Linked DNA regions of Homo sapiens: regions 2 and 3 are each linked to region 1. Evidence: promoter capture Hi-C in 16 types of primary human blood cells and fetal thymus (Javierre and others, 2016). All regions are on one chromosome and are shown on one strand. The core of a region is centred on a gene start or on the middle of the fragment in contact, and the rest is flanking DNA. Distances in the headings are between cores, read along the strand shown.

Region 1 (4,866 bases), core at 1-2,500:
AGCCTTCCACTCTGTCCACCTTCCTGACCTTTAATACACAACCCAGCCCCTGTTCCCTTCTGAAATCCCAAGCTTTTCAAAATGACTCAAAGATACCGAGATTGAGGGCGAGGAGCTGAGGATGTGTGGAATAGGGTGGGGCTGGAACTCCAGACCTGGACCTGTATTATATTTGCAAAGGAGGCAAATATAACCCAGAAAGGCTAGGGAAGATGGCAGCAGAGGAATGAGAAAAGCTGAAGGATGGAAAATGTAAAAAATGAGGACAGAAAGAGGAGTTGAGGAAAGCCAGCCAAGAATAGAGGGCCAGGTGCCTGACTCAGATAAGACAAGAGCAGGGTTGTCTGGGAAAGATAGGGAAAGAGACCAGAGGTGGAAGGGCAGAAGAGAGTCAGTGAGGAGTGGAGAAGAGGTGAGAGAAGAATGGGAGCGATTCGAGTTATAATTGGTTGTGAAGGAGGGGTCTAGGTACAGATGACTGAGGACGGATGAAGAGAAATAGAAGGACCAGGCGAATAAAAGTGAGGTGAGACGGGCGAATAAGAGAGGTAGAAGATGGAAGAGAGCTGGAAGACAGCAAAGGAGACCAGGGGGCCTGACTCCCCCCGGCTCACAGCACGGGGCCAGGAAGGGAGGCACCCGGCAAGGGTCACAAGTGTCAATCTGGCGGGACAGAAGGCTGGGCCGCCCTTTCTGCCCTCCCATCCCTCCTCAAGGCCATCCAGAGAATGTGGATGGAGGATGAGAGGGGGAAATCCGGCGTGGTGTGGAAGGAGCGCCCGAACCCTCTTCCTCTTCTTTAAGCTTTTGGTTTCTCAAATACCTGCCCTATCTTCCCATCTGCTCCCCTCACCCCACCCCTTGGCAAAATCCCAGGGCTTTTTTTGGGGTCAGTAGGATTCTGGCCACCTCTCCAGTCCGCCCCCAAAAGCCAGACTCCACATTCGCAGGCAGTAGGTTGGGATTTGGAAAGGTGCCTCCCCGCAGGAACCCCACCCCTTCCCACCTCCTCGCCCCACTCTTTCTCCGCGGCCGTCAGTCTCTCCATTTCCCCCTCCTGGTCTCGTCCTCCCTCCCGACTCCCTAGCTCTCCCTCCCCTCGCTTTCATCCTCCTATCCCCACCTCTCCAACCTCCTCTTTCATCCCCCTCCCCTCTCCTCTCCTCCCCGCTCCCGCCTGCCCCACCCCTGGGAAGCCCCTCCCGTCGGGCAGCGCCGCCTTATAAGCGGGTTCCCTTCCCGGGGGCGGCAGCGGCTGGTCGGCGGCAGCTCTGCTGGTGCGGGGGCGGCGAGCCCGGGATCGAGCTACCGCGGCCGAGCGCGCCGGCCACCGCCTGCACCGCCCTTCCGCCCGCCCTCCGGACGGCCGCAGCCCTGCGGGTCTCCGCTCCAGACCCACCCCCGCCCCACCCCGCGCGCCTCTGCCGCCTCTTCCAGAGACCCAGCTTGCCGAGCGGCCGCCGCTGCCGCTGTCGCCGCCGCCGCCGCCACCGCGCCAGGTTCCGGCCGCGGCCACCCTCCGCCGTCCAGGGCCCCTCCGTCTCGGCCCCGGGACCCCGGCTCCCCGCCAGCCCCGGCCCCGGCCCCGGCACCATGTCGGAGAAAAGCGTGGAGGCAGCGGCCGAGTTGAGCGCCAAGGTACGGGCGGGGGCGGCGGCGGCCCGGACCTCGCGCAGCCCTGGGGCCCGGCGCGGTCCTTCGCCCCAGGCCGCCCCCGACGGCCCCGCGCGGCCCTTGCGCCCGGGTCCTGGCGGACCCCACTGCGCCCTCCCACCGCTCCCCGGCCCGGAGCTCCTTTCCCGGCTCCGCGCGGCTAGCGCCAGCGCCCTCTAGCTGCCCTGCGCGCACCACGGCGCCCGGCCTCGCCGCTCCGGTCGCGCCGTCCCCCGCAGCCGTCCCCACCCCTCTTCGGCCCCACCTCGCTGACCGGATCCCGTCCGGCTTCCCGTCCGAACGCCCCGAGTCTCACTTTGCCGCGCCCCCTCCCTGCGCCCCGCTGCCGCGTCTTTGCTTGCAACCTGACCTCACCTTTCCTCGCTAAGCGGTTTGAGATCCTCAAGTGTAAACAGGACTCTCCCTGGAGGCTGCTCCTCCGGGCCCCTCCCCGCGGCCCGACCGTCGCTCGCTTCTCTCCCCGGACGGCGGCCGCCTCTGTTTTCTCGTTCCCTCCCCTCAGCTGGCTTTCAGCTTTCTTTTCTCTTCATCGTCCCCTTCCCGCATACACACTGAAAGAATCTCGAATTCCTAAAAATTAGAAGCGGGGCAGGACTAGCCTTCGAAAAAGCCGAGGCTGGGCATTGCATGGCATTGCGTCGAGCTGTCCTCGCCCTCATCAGCTCCCTTCCCCGGCCCCATCCGTTCGCCCTTGCCTCTCTTCCAGCCTTCCTCTAATTTCCCCAGGGAACCTGCGGAGTGTCGCTTTGGGAAATTAACGCGGCCGGGGTTTGGGGGCTGGGAGCCCTATCTTGTGTGTGTATGTGTATGGCGGGGGGGGGGGGCGCGGTGGTTGCTGAGGGGCCGTCACACAGGTCTCCCGGAGGCCCGCGGAGTGAAACGGGGGGAGCCAATGGGATTAACGGCGGTGGGAGAGGGGCTGTGTGCGATCTGCCAAGGTGCGCCCGTGTGGCCCTCCGGCGGGCTGTGCGGTGGCATGTGACTTCACTGAGTAGGTGTCTTTGTATGTCTGAAATCCAGCGAGTGTGTGGGACTGCCCGTGTCAGTTACATGTGTGCATGTGGAGACGTAGATGTTCTGGAGCCATGTTGTCGCTTTGTGAGTGCTGAGTGGCTCCGCTGTGCTCCCGTGCTGTCTCAAGAGTGTGGACCAGAATGGCCCAACGCTGGGCCATGTGTCTCCCATCGCGTGGGTGCTCCTCTCTAACTGTGTCTGTGCATGGCTGTCGGCCGGTGTCGGTGTGTGTGCCTGTGTTGAGTAAATGAGGCCAGAGGGCTGCTTAGCAGAAGACCTAGGGCCCAGGTCACATATTCTCCTGGAAAAGGGATCATGGAAGGACAGTGACCAGAAGGACAGAACAGGGGAGGAGAGGGCCCGGCCCCTTGAACTTTGGTCTCTGGTATTCTCCCTCCCTGCATCAGCCCAGATGGGAAAGTCAGGCCAGGGCCATACAGACTTTTGGTGCTGGGGCCCCCAGAGAGAAGCTGACCAGCTCTTTGCTCTCCTGGCCCAGGACGTAGGGAAGAGCCCCCTAGGTAGTGGAAATGCCATACTGACCTTGTGGCACAGAAATGAAGACCTCACGGTGGGGTGGAAGGGCACCCTCTCTGGAGTGAGAGTGAAGAGTTCTGAGCTACCCTTAAAGGGAGAAGGGAATTGAGTGCCCCCCAGGGCAGCCGTTCTGCACCAGGCTCCTCTCCTATCCCCTATCCTGTTCCAGAAAGGACCCCCCCGCCCAGGGTGATCTCACACAGGAGACTTCCATTCACATGGAATCAGATACACAGCGTGGCACACCAACACCAGATCAGATCACACAAGGACACCTACCGTGTTACACTGTGCCTGCCAAGGAGTGGGTGGGGAGAGCACTGGAATCTGAATTGGGAGGCTAGTGTAGTGTCCAGAAGGGACTCAGATGTGCCATATCAGCACAGGACGTCAACCTATGCCTGCTAGGATCTTGGGGTGAAGGAGAGGGGCTGGCTGGTGGGAGGGTCTCCTAGACTGGTCCCTCCCTCTTCTCCATTCCTATCCCACCCCAGTCACAGACCTTGTTTGTTGCTCTCTCCTTGTTTCCCACGCCTGCTACTCTTCCCCTCCTTGTTTTCTCTTCTACTTCACCTACATTTCCACCGTAAATGGCTACTTCCACTACACCCATGCATACACCATGGGAGGCAGGGATAGAGGAAACTACTTGAACTGTTTTGGGGCGGGGAGGGCAGAAAGTGGGAGGGGTGCTGGGAATGTGCTAAGGTGTAGTGTTTGGCCAAGTAGGGGCCTGAGGATTAGGGAGACACAGATGGAGAGAAACAAAGACCTTAGAAGCTGAAGGGGAAGCTGGGAGGGATGCCCAGGAGAGAGAGTCCTCAGGAAAAGGCCCCAGAGGTAGACAAAAGGCAGAGCTGGGCGGGCAGTGGCGGGGCAGGCAAGGGAGGCGGAGGGACACAGGAGGGGGCGGGGCACTGAGGCTGCAAGCAGATGGAGAGGATTTGCTTTGCTGAGCTGAACTCTTCAGCCAGTGAGGTTTGGGAGAACTTGATGGGGGTGGGGATCATTACCCTGGTTGCCCGCTCCTGCTTCTTCATCCCTTTCCCACCTCACCTTGGGTCTTGGGGAAGGAGGTGTTTGGTCTCAACCCCTTCATGGCCCTAATGTAAGGACCCTAGGGCCCCTATTCTGTCTCTAAGCTGTGGCCACCTTATTCAGTTCACACACCTCTAAGCTCACTACAGAGGGAGAACTGGGGCTGCAGGGACTTAGGGGCTGCAAGCCATTTGTGGTGAGAAAGGTGACCTCTTTCTCCTTTGCAGGACCTGAAGGAGAAGAAGGAGAAGGTGGAGGAGAAGGCAAGCCGGAAAGAGCGAAAGAAAGAAGTGGTGGAGGTGTGGAGGGGTGGGGGAGAGGACCACATCTGCCCTACCATCTTCCCTCCCAATCATCTCATCCTTCCTCTGCTTTCCTTCCGAGGGTGCTGGGTCCTGCCGTTCCCCTGAGCCCTGTCACCCTTGCTGCCCCACCCTGTGGCCCATCCCAAGCCCTTTTATCACCCAGGCTCCAGTCCCATTGGTGGTGATGGTGGGCAAGGCATGCAGCCAGCCTGAGGCTACTCCCTCTCCTGGTCCCCACAGGAGGAGGAGAACGGGGCTGAGGAGGAAGAAGAAGAAACTGCCGAGGATGGAGAGGAGG
Region 2 (4,866 bases), core at 1,327-3,826, 310 kb before region 1:
TCCCGTTGGACTCCAGGATAATTCCACCAAGAGATTTCCAGCCCAGGATCCTGCTGCCCTGCTGTGGCTGGCTGTCTCCATCACCCCAGTCCTTTTGGACCACATCCTGAGGAGCAGCAGCAGCAAACCAAGGCAGAGCAGTGGAAGCGGTTCTGACCATTATCACTGCTATCCTTTAAAATCTCTGGCTTAGAGGCCGGGCGCGGTGGCTCACACCTATAATCCCAGCACTTTGGGAGGCGGATCACGAGGTCAGGAGTTCAAGACCAGCCTGGCCAATACGGTGAAACTCCGTCTCTACTAAAAATACAAAAAATAGCTAGGCATGGTGGTGCGCGCCTGTAGTCCCAGCTACTCAGGAGGCTGAGGCAGAAGAATCGCTTGAACCCCGGAGGTGGAGGTTGCGGTGAGCCAAGATCATGCCACTGCACTCCAGCTTGGGCGACAGAGCAAGACACCATCTTAAAAAAAAAAAAAAAACTGGCTTAGAATGACAGTAAGAAGCCAGCCAATCTTTAGTTGGCTTTACTATCTGTTTTCTGGAAAATGTAACCCTGCCCCCTTACGGCCTGCATCCAGGTGGGCCCCTCACACACCCCCGCCTTGGTACACCACCAAGGGACACTGTAGCCTCCACAATCTACTCTCATCTTGGCAGGAAGAAAAGGCTTCAGGCTCCTCCGCTGTCCCCAGTTAGATCCATGTGTAATCTTATTCCTCATTCTTTCTCCAGCTTCCCCTAAAGTACGACTGAGCTTGGCAAACGAAGCTCTGCTGCCCACCCTCATCTGCGACATTGCTGGCTATTACCCTCTGGATGTGGTGGTGACGTGGACCCGAGAGGAGCTGGGTGGATCCCCAGCCCAAGTCTCTGGTGCCTCCTTCTCCAGCCTCAGGCAAAGCGTGGCAGGCACCTACAGCATCTCCTCCTCTCTCACCGCAGAACCTGGCTCTGCAGGTGCCACTTACACCTGCCAGGTCACACACATCTCTCTGGAGGAGCCCCTTGGGGCCAGCACCCAGGTTGTCCCACCAGGTACTGGGAGTGTCCTCCTTTTCCCCACCTCCACACTAGGGCTCATGGCTCTCCTGCCCCAGCTCATCTATGGCCTTGTTCTGCTGCCCATCCACTTTGTTCGCAGCCCTGGCTTCATGCTCCTGCCTCTGCTCCTGACTATTTTCCCAAGGCGGCAGCTGCCACAGCTTCTACCACACATCCCCTGAGACTTCATTATACTCCAGCCTCCAGGGTGTCAGGCAATGTGCTTAAGGCTGGAGATCACAGATGAATAATTCCTGATCATGCCCTCCAGGAGCTTAGTCCAGTAATAGAGACAAGACTAAGTAGACAGAGAAGATGGCATTTGAGCCAAGTTAACTAGCTTAGAGGGAAGGGAACACTCAAGATAGAAACAATAGCATATATGAAAGCCAAATCATAAAACAGCCTAAAGAGAATTTGGAGAATTGCAAGTAATTCAGCACAGCTAGAGCTTAGGGTATATGGGAAAAAGGGAAAGTGGCTCTGAAGCTTCGGAGGTAATTCTATTTATTGAGCATTTACATGAATCAAGCAGTGTAGAAAGCACTTAAATGTATGATTTCATGGATCATGACTCCCATTTTACAGGTGAGTAAACTGGCACTTGCAGATGTCAATGAATTTGCCCAAGGTCACCTATCAATCAATGGTAAAGAGAGAATGTGAAAAACAGGCAACCGGATTCCCCTTACGGGCTTAATTAAACCCTGTAGATCTCACTGGGCCTTCAAGCTGGAACTTCCTGAGAGCCATAGCATGCTGTTGAAAGGTTTTATTTATTTATTTATTTATTTATTTATTTATTTATTTATTTTATTTTATTTTACTTTTTTTCGATACAGAATCTTGCTCTGTTCCCCAGGCTGGAGTGCAGTGGTATGATCTCAGCTCACTGCAACCTCCATATCCTGGGTTCAAGCCATCCTCTTGCCTCAGCCTCCCAAGTAGCTGGGATTACAGGCGCGCACCACCACGCCTGGCTAATTTTGCGTTTTTAGTAGAGATGGGGTTTCGCCATGATGGCCAGGCTGGTCTCAAACTCCTGACCTCAGGTGATCTGTCCGCCTCGGCTTCCCAAAGTGCTGGGATTACAGATATGAGCCACCGCACCCTGCCTGTCGAGAGGTTTTAAGCAGGAAAGGGACAGGAAAGAACCCGCAACTTGAAGTGGAAACATCCAGGAGCACTGGGCATTATTTGGTTGCTCATTAGACTGTGAACTTCCCCAAAACTGAGGTTTCACTTCAGCTCACATCATTCCCCAACTATTTACAAAATCCCAGTTAACTGGTGGTTTTTTGTTTTGCTTTGTTTTATTTTGTTTTGTTTTGAGATAGGGTCTCACTCTGTCGCCCAGGCTGGAGTGCAGTGGCACGATCTCAGCTCACTGCAAACTCTGCCTCCCAGGCTCAAGTGATTCTCCCACCTCAGCCTCCCAAGTACCTGGGACCACAGGCGCACACCAACATGCCCAGTTAATTTTTTGTATTTTTTGTACAGACAGGGTTTCACCATGTTGCCCAGGCTGGTCTCGAACTCCTGACCTCAGGTGATCCACCTACCTCAGCCTCCCAAAGTTCTGGGATTACAGGCATGAGCCACTGTGTCCAGGCAAGTTAAGTGCTAACAAATAAACCCACCTAAATCTCACTTGCAAAGCAATTTTTAAAACCTTGTCCTTAGGTGGGAAGAGGTAGAGAATTCTGTGTGGAGTAACTCACAAGTATCCAGCAACCTTGAATAAGAACAAATGCTGCTGAGTGCCTTGTTCCAGGCTCCTCAACCAGGGACTCACACACACAATCCTTAGCTCCTCCTCCCTGGGGTGGACACTGCAGGTGAGGGCTCAGCTCATGATTCCTGCGCACGATGATCCCCGCCCACGTTGCTCTCACCTACAGAGCGGAGAACAGCCTTGGGAGTCATCTTTGCCAGCAGTCTCTTCCTTCTTGCACTGATGTTCCTGGGGCTTCAGAGACGGCAAGGTAAGAGCCTGGGTGCCCTTGGCTCTGGCCCTGGCCCACCTCACCCACTCTAACCACCCCCCCGCCCAGACCAGGGTGGAAGCCCAGATGCCCCAAGCTCCAGCCACCCACCCATCACAGCCTCCTGCTTTTGAGTTTGCCCTAAATGAAAATGAAACCAGTCGTGTTCCCTCGTTTTCTCCTAGCTACCTCACTAAAGTCTGTCACTCTCCTGCCTCAGAGTAGAAAGAAAGAGTAGTCACGTGCTCCCAGAAGGACTCTAAGTCAAGTCACAGAGCTAAAAATACATGAAGGTGGCACCAGCTCATGGGGCACTGGGCCTGGCTCTGCAGAGGCCTCTGCCTTCCTTCACTGTGCACCCTGGGCTCATGCACCAAGGCAGAGAACAGGAAGAAGTGAGGGGACAAGAAGAAGGCAGAATGTCCAGATGGAGGATAAGACCAAAGAGCCAGGTTGGTGGTGTGACGGTAGGAAAACAAAGCTGGAGGAAATGGAGAAGGAACAAGTGAGGGACAATGAGGCATGGGTTGGGGCTGGGCTACCCCTCCCAAACTCAGCTCTGTCAAAATAAAAGGCCCTTGTGTCTGCTGCGACCAAGCTTTTCCACTTTCCTGTCTTTCTCCACACTGGTCCCAACTGAGCCCTGTCACCAAGCCTAGCGGCTCCAACTTGCAAAGTGTTTAAGTATGAAACAAAGGCCCTCAGAGGCACCCCCGTGGCTCCATCTCAGTTGCACCTCAGCTGCAATTAGGGTTCTGCTCCCTCGGGTGACTGCTGGGAGGTTCAGGATACCTGCAAATGCCTCACTCCCTCAGCTGCAAGGAGAGACTTCTCCTTTTTATTCGTTTCTAAAATGTGCCTAATCAATACGGTGGAACTCAGCATACCAAAACTGTACGTGAGGATGATGGGGAAAAGGGGGTAAGGGGGTGTTCACTGACAGCCTTATCTGGGCACATCCCCTGGGACAGGACAAGCAGGCCAAGGACCTAGGAAGGAGCACAGGAGGCAGATGGAAGAGGCCTGAGGGAACCTGTGCTTGTTTGCCAGTGTGAGATGCCCACGCAACTTCCTGTCTTCACTTCCTCTTACCAGCACCTACAGGACTTGGGCTGCTTCAGGCTGAACGCTGGGAGACCACTTCCTGTGCTGACACACAGAGCTCCCATCTCCATGAAGACCGCACAGCGCGTGTAAGCCAGCCCAGCTGACCTAAAGCGACATGAGACTACTAGAAAGAAACGACACCCTTCCCCAAGCCCCCACAGCTACTCCAACCCAAACAACAACCAAGCCAGTTTAATGGTAGGAATTTGTATTTTTTGCCTTTGTTCAGAATACATGACATTGGTAAATATGCCACATGCCTTTGGTGGAAGTACAACTGTTGTTATTACTCTATACAAGTATGAGATCAGGGTTAGGAAAAAAAGACAAAGAGGTGATGACAGACACACAGTGGAAACCCCACATCGTCTCATGGCAAACCGAAGAACGGGATGTGGGAAGCTCAGCTTCATTTGACTGCAAAGTCCCAGGGTTTTGTTGCACATTTGCTCATGCACATGGGTGGTGGGAGGAAAGGGGGATAGCAGAGACACACAGAAGAGGGTACAGGGTGGGTGAGAAAGAAAGTAGAAGGGCTAATACCCCCAAAGAACAAGGCCAACTACACCTGGTGAGCCTCAGAGGGACAGAAACCCAGGAATGATTCCTGTGATAGGGCTGGGAGAGCCAAGAGGACGGATTCGCTCCAGGCTTGGGACACATCGAGGACAGTGGTGGTTCTTCTCCAGCGGTGACCCCCTGCATTAGGCAAGGAGGAGCCCAGAGGAGAGT
Region 3 (4,866 bases), core at 1,317-3,816, 290 kb before region 1:
GAAGGGCCGCAGCTCCGTGGGCAACGGAAATCTTCACCGAACCAGCAGTGTTCCTGAGTATGTCTACAACCTACACTTGGTTGAAAATGATTTTGTTGGAGGCCGTTCCCCTGTTCCTAAAACCTATTACATGCTAAAGGCTGGCACAACTGCCACTTATGAAGGTCGCTGGGGAAGAGGAACAGCACAGTACAGCTCCCAGAAGTCCGTGGAAGAAAGGTATTTGAGGCATCCTCTGAGGAGACTGGAGATTTCTCCTGACAGCAGCCCGGAGAGGGCTCACTACACGCACAGCGATTACCAGTACAGCCAGAGAAGCCAGGCTGGGCACACCCTGCACCACCAAGAAAGCAGGCGGGCCGCCTTCCTGGTGCCACCGAGATATGATCGTTCTGAGATCGCGGGGGTCCGCCGTACTGGCACCACAAGCAGGCAGCACCACTTTGACACCACAGGCAGTACCAGCGTGGCTCTGTTAGTGACACCGTTTTTGACAGCATCCCTGCCAACCCGGCCCTGCTCACGTACCCCAGGCCAGGGACCAGCCGCAGCATGGGCAACCTCTTGGAGAAAGAGAACTACCTGAGGGCAGGGCTCACCGTCGGCCAGGTCAGGCCGCTGGTGCCCCTGCGGCCCCTCACTCAGAACAGGGCTTCCAGGTCCTCCTGGCACCGGAGCTCCTTCCACAGCACCCGCACACCGAGGAAAGCTGGGCCCAGTGTTGCCGTGGATTCCAGCGGGAGGAGAGCGCACTTGACCGTCGGCCAGGCAGCGGCAGGGGGAAGTGGGAATCTTCTCACCCAGAGAAGCACTGACTCCCAGCTGGGGAATGCAGACATGGAGATGACTCTGGAGCGAGCAGGGAGTATGCTCGATGCAGACCAGATGCCGCCGTCCAGGATTTCTGCCGCAGCCACTTTCATACAGCACGAGTGCTTCCAGAAATCTGAAGCTGGGAAGAGGGTTAACCAGTTTTGTGGCATCCCCAAGCTTCTGCAGCTCCTAAAAGTTCAGAATGAAGATGTTCAGCGAGCTGTGTGGGGGGCCTTGAGAAACTTACTATTTGAAGACAATGACAACAAATTGGAGGTGGCTGAACTAAATGGGGTAACTCGGCTGCTCCAGGTGCTGAAGCAAACCAGAGTCTTGGAGACTAAAAAACAACTAACAGGTTTGCTGTGGAATTTGTCATCTAATGACAAACTCAAGAATCTCATGATAACAGAAGCATTGCTTATGCTGACCGAGAATATAATCATCTCCTTTTCTGGATGGCCTGAAGGAGACTACCCAAAAGCGAATGGTTTGCTCGATTTTGACACAGTCTACAACCCACTGGATGTCTAAGAAACATGAGTGCTGCTGGCCCTGATAGGAGAAAAGCAATGAGAAGATGTGACCGACTCATTGACTCACTGGTCCATTATGTCAGAGGAACCATTGCGGATTACCAGCCAGATGACAAGGCCACGGAGAATTGTGTGCACATTCTTCATAACCTCTCCTACCAGCTGGAGGTAGAGCTCCCAGAGAAATATTCCCAGAATATCTATATTCAAAACCCAAATGTCCAGACTAACAACAAAAGTATTGGATGTTTTGGCAGTCGAAGCAGGAAACTAAAAGAGCAATACTAGGACATGCCGATGCCAGAGGAAAAGAGCAACCCCAAGGGCGTGGAGTGGCTGTGACACTCCATTGTGATAAGGATGTATCTGTCCTTGATCGCCAAGAGTGTCCCAAACTACACACAGGAAGCCTCCTTAGGCGCTCTCCAGAACCTCACAGCCGGAAGTGGACCAATGCCGACATCAGTGGCTCAGACAGTCGTCCAGAAGGAAAATGGCCTGCAGCACACCCGAAAGATGGTGCATGTCAGTGACCCAAGTGTGAAAAAGACAGCCAACTTGCTGCTGAGGAATCTGTCCCAGAATCTTTCTCTGCAGAATAAAATTGCCAAAGAAACTCTCCCCAGTTTGGTCTCCATCATTCCTGATACAGTCCCGAGTACTGACCTTCTCATTGAAACTACAGCCTCTGCCTGTTACATGTTGAACAACGTAATCCAAAACAGTTACCAGAATGCACAGCGCCTTCCGAATACCGGGGGCATCCAGAAAATTATGACCATCAGTGCAGGCGATGCCTATGCCTCCAACAAAGCAAGTAAAGCTGCTTCCATCCTCCTGTATTCTCTGTAGGCACACACGGAACTCCATCATGCCTACAAGAAGGCTCAGTTTAAGAAGACAGATTTTGTCAACAGCTGGACTGTCAAAGCCTACCACTCCCTTAAAGACTGAGGAAAATGACGAAGTATTCTCAGCTGCAAAAAAATCCCACAGGAAAACACCTATTTTTCTACTACCCAGCCCAAGAAACCTCAAAAGCATGCCTCGTTTCTATCATTTTCTATTTCCATGGTCCCCCGAATCCAGAAAACAAGTACAACATAATCTTATGAGTCTTCCAGAAGACTTTTGCAAGCTTGCCACCAGTAGATACTGGTCACAGGCTCTACAAATAGTGGTCTTTGTTATTAGGGCTTATGGTGCATGGCCTCCTGGAACCAAAATGTGAATTCATGTGGAATGGACTTTGATCCAATAAATAAGGAAAGAAGTTGTTGCATTACTGGGATTTTAAAAGCTTGATTTACATTTATATTCCTTTTCTAGTTCCCATGTTTTGTCACTCATGTGCACATTGCTTCACCATTGGGCCATGAGTATATTGTTCTGTAGTGTTGAAACAGAATGGAAATGACAAGAAATATCTGCAGTTATCCAGGAGAAAGTATAATGGCAAAATTATTTGTTTCTTTGTTTACTTTGTGCTCGTTTTTATCTCCTTAGGTTTTTTTCCTCTGATTTTTAAATAAACTTAAGAAATTTAGATTACAGAGTATGCATGACTGTAAGAAAAAGAAATTGAGAGGAAGTGATCATAGCAAATTAAAGAAACCTTTTTCTCCCAAAACTTAAAGTAAAATAAATAAAAATAAAAATAAATCTTTTCCCCAGAGAAAGGCAACTGTGATTATAAAGTTTAACCTTCCCCCAAACACTGAATGAATGAGATTTTTGCTCCGGAAATACTTTACCTATAACAACACCATTAAATCCAAATCTCTTCTAAACAATGGCATTCCGTGTAATGCCTTTCCTGGACATTTTTTTTTTTTTTTTTTTTTAGACGGAGCTCAGGCTGGAGTGCAGTGGTGCAATCTTGGCTCACTGCAACCTCCGCCTCCCTGGTTCAAGTGATTCTCCTGCCTCAGCCTCCTGAGTAGCTGGGATTACAGGCGTGCACCACCACGCCTGGCTAATTTTTTTGTATTTTTAGTAGAGACAGGGTTTCACCATGTTGGTCAGGCTGGTCTTGAACTCCTGACCTCATGATCCGCCCGGCTCAGCCTCCCAAAGTGCTGGGATTATAGGTGTGAGCCACCGCACCGGGCCTTCTGTATTTTTTAGGCCACTGCCCTGGACTAGTGGAAGAATGGACTCTAGTCTTTATCTGCAAGAGGAACTAAGGCCTTCTATCAGACTGCCCGGCCAGCCTGGGGCACTGAAAATACAGCTCATTTTAATGAGTTACATTATCAACCAGCTTTGCCCAGCATTTAAGAAATATCACAGGGCCACTAAATCTCATATGATCTTCTTCAAGCCATTATTTTAATTCAAGAAAACTCTAGAGAAAAAAGTGAAGAAGTCATGTTGAAGAAGATATAAGAATGTGTCAAGACCATACAGAAATGATATGAGAAATACTGGTGTTTTAAAAGGTGACATCATCCAGTGAAATGAATCTATATTAAATGTTATTTTAACTGCATTATGATTAAAACCATTCATATAGAGTTAGTCTTCACAACTACTATTCTGTTATATTTTGTTTTTTTTTTTTTAAATCTGACAACGTTTGTCATAAGTAAGATAAGGAAAAAAACTCTTCAACTCCTTTTGGCCAGAAAAGTGTAATAGAAAATAAATGTTGAATATGTACTTAAGTCTTTATTATATTTGAAACTTAAATTTTTTTTCAGTTTTAAAAGCTGAATGAAGATAGCTTAGGTAACTAACCTAGTTCAAAATGAAATTTAGATACCAATTTTTAAAATACTGGAGAGAATTTATATGTCTTTTTCCAGAGTTCTGATAATAAGCATTTGGAGTGCATTCATTCCTCCAGATAATAAATGTATGTTCAAGAACTTTTTGTGTTTTTTAAGACATTAATAGAGTCTTCAATAATATTAAATACAAAAGGAGACAAAAAAAAAAAAGATTCCTATCTGGACTGGGCACGGTGGCTCACGCTTGTAATCCCAGCACTTTGGAAGTCCGAGGTGGGCAGATCACGAGGTCAGGAGTTGGAGACCAGCCTGACCAACATGGTGAAACCCTGTCTCTACTAAAATACAAAAAATTAATCGGGCGTGGTGGCACGCACCTGTAGTCCCAGCTACTCGGGAGGCTGAGGCAGGGGAATCACTTGAACCCGGGAGGCGGAGGTTGCAGTGAGCCTAGATCATGTCATTGCACTCCAGCCTGGGGGACAGAGTGAGACTCCGTCTAAAAAAAAAAAAAATTCCTGTCTGTTTTAGTCAATGACAATCAAATTATCTGTAAATAATCACAGTTTGATCTCTTCGCTTTCATTCCTCATATCTATTTTTTTTAAATAGCATTGAGTATTTCCATACTAAATTAAATTGCAGCAGTGATAGAGGCCATCGTAGGACAGGCCCAGTGGCTCACACCGGTAATCTCAGCAACTCAGGAAGCTGAGGCAAGGAGAATCATTTGAACCTAGGAGTTAGAGAACAGACTGGAAAACCTAGCAAGACCCTGTTTCTAC

The links. Contacts are between HindIII fragments. The CHiCAGO score rates a contact against its expected background, and 5 or more counts as called.
Region 2: a fragment that was not itself captured here is called in contact with the fragment with the promoter of PTMS in region 1 in 2 of 17 cell types (activated CD4 T cells and total CD8 T cells); the score reaches 6.7 in activated CD4 T cells.
Region 3: a contact is called between a fragment that was not itself captured here and the fragment with the promoter of PTMS in region 1, in 5 of 17 cell types (naive CD4 T cells, activated CD4 T cells, non-activated CD4 T cells and 2 more). The highest score is 7.2, in naive CD4 T cells.

Annotation. Positions count from the first base shown.
Region 1 is chr12:6,765,113-6,769,978 of GRCh38, forward strand. It overlaps PTMS (parathymosin), which reads left to right and starts at 1,251. Exons shown (of 5, transcript NM_002824.6): 1 at 1,251-1,638; 2 at 4,491-4,562; 3 at 4,809-4,866. The coding sequence starts at 1,594. RefSeq lists silencers at 1,116-1,445, 1,556-2,055. The HindIII fragment of the contact is 8,838 bases long and covers 803-4,866 here.
Region 2 is chr12:6,457,912-6,462,777 of GRCh38, forward strand. It overlaps TAPBPL (TAP binding protein like), which reads left to right. Exons shown (of 7, transcript NM_018009.5): 5 at 734-1,036; 6 at 2,944-3,027; 7 at 4,123-4,405. The coding sequence ends at 4,238. VAMP1 (vesicle associated membrane protein 1) reads right to left here. Exons shown (of 5, transcript NM_014231.5): 5 at 4,326-4,866. Among named protein-coding and RNA genes, the nearest start is that of TAPBPL, 8.3 kb to the left of the region's middle. The HindIII fragment of the contact is 2,094 bases long and covers 1,530-3,623 here.
Region 3 is chr12:6,477,908-6,482,773 of GRCh38, forward strand. It overlaps the pseudogene PKP2P1. Among named protein-coding and RNA genes, the nearest start is that of VAMP1, 9.7 kb to the left of the region's middle. The HindIII fragment of the contact is 162 bases long and covers 2,486-2,647 here.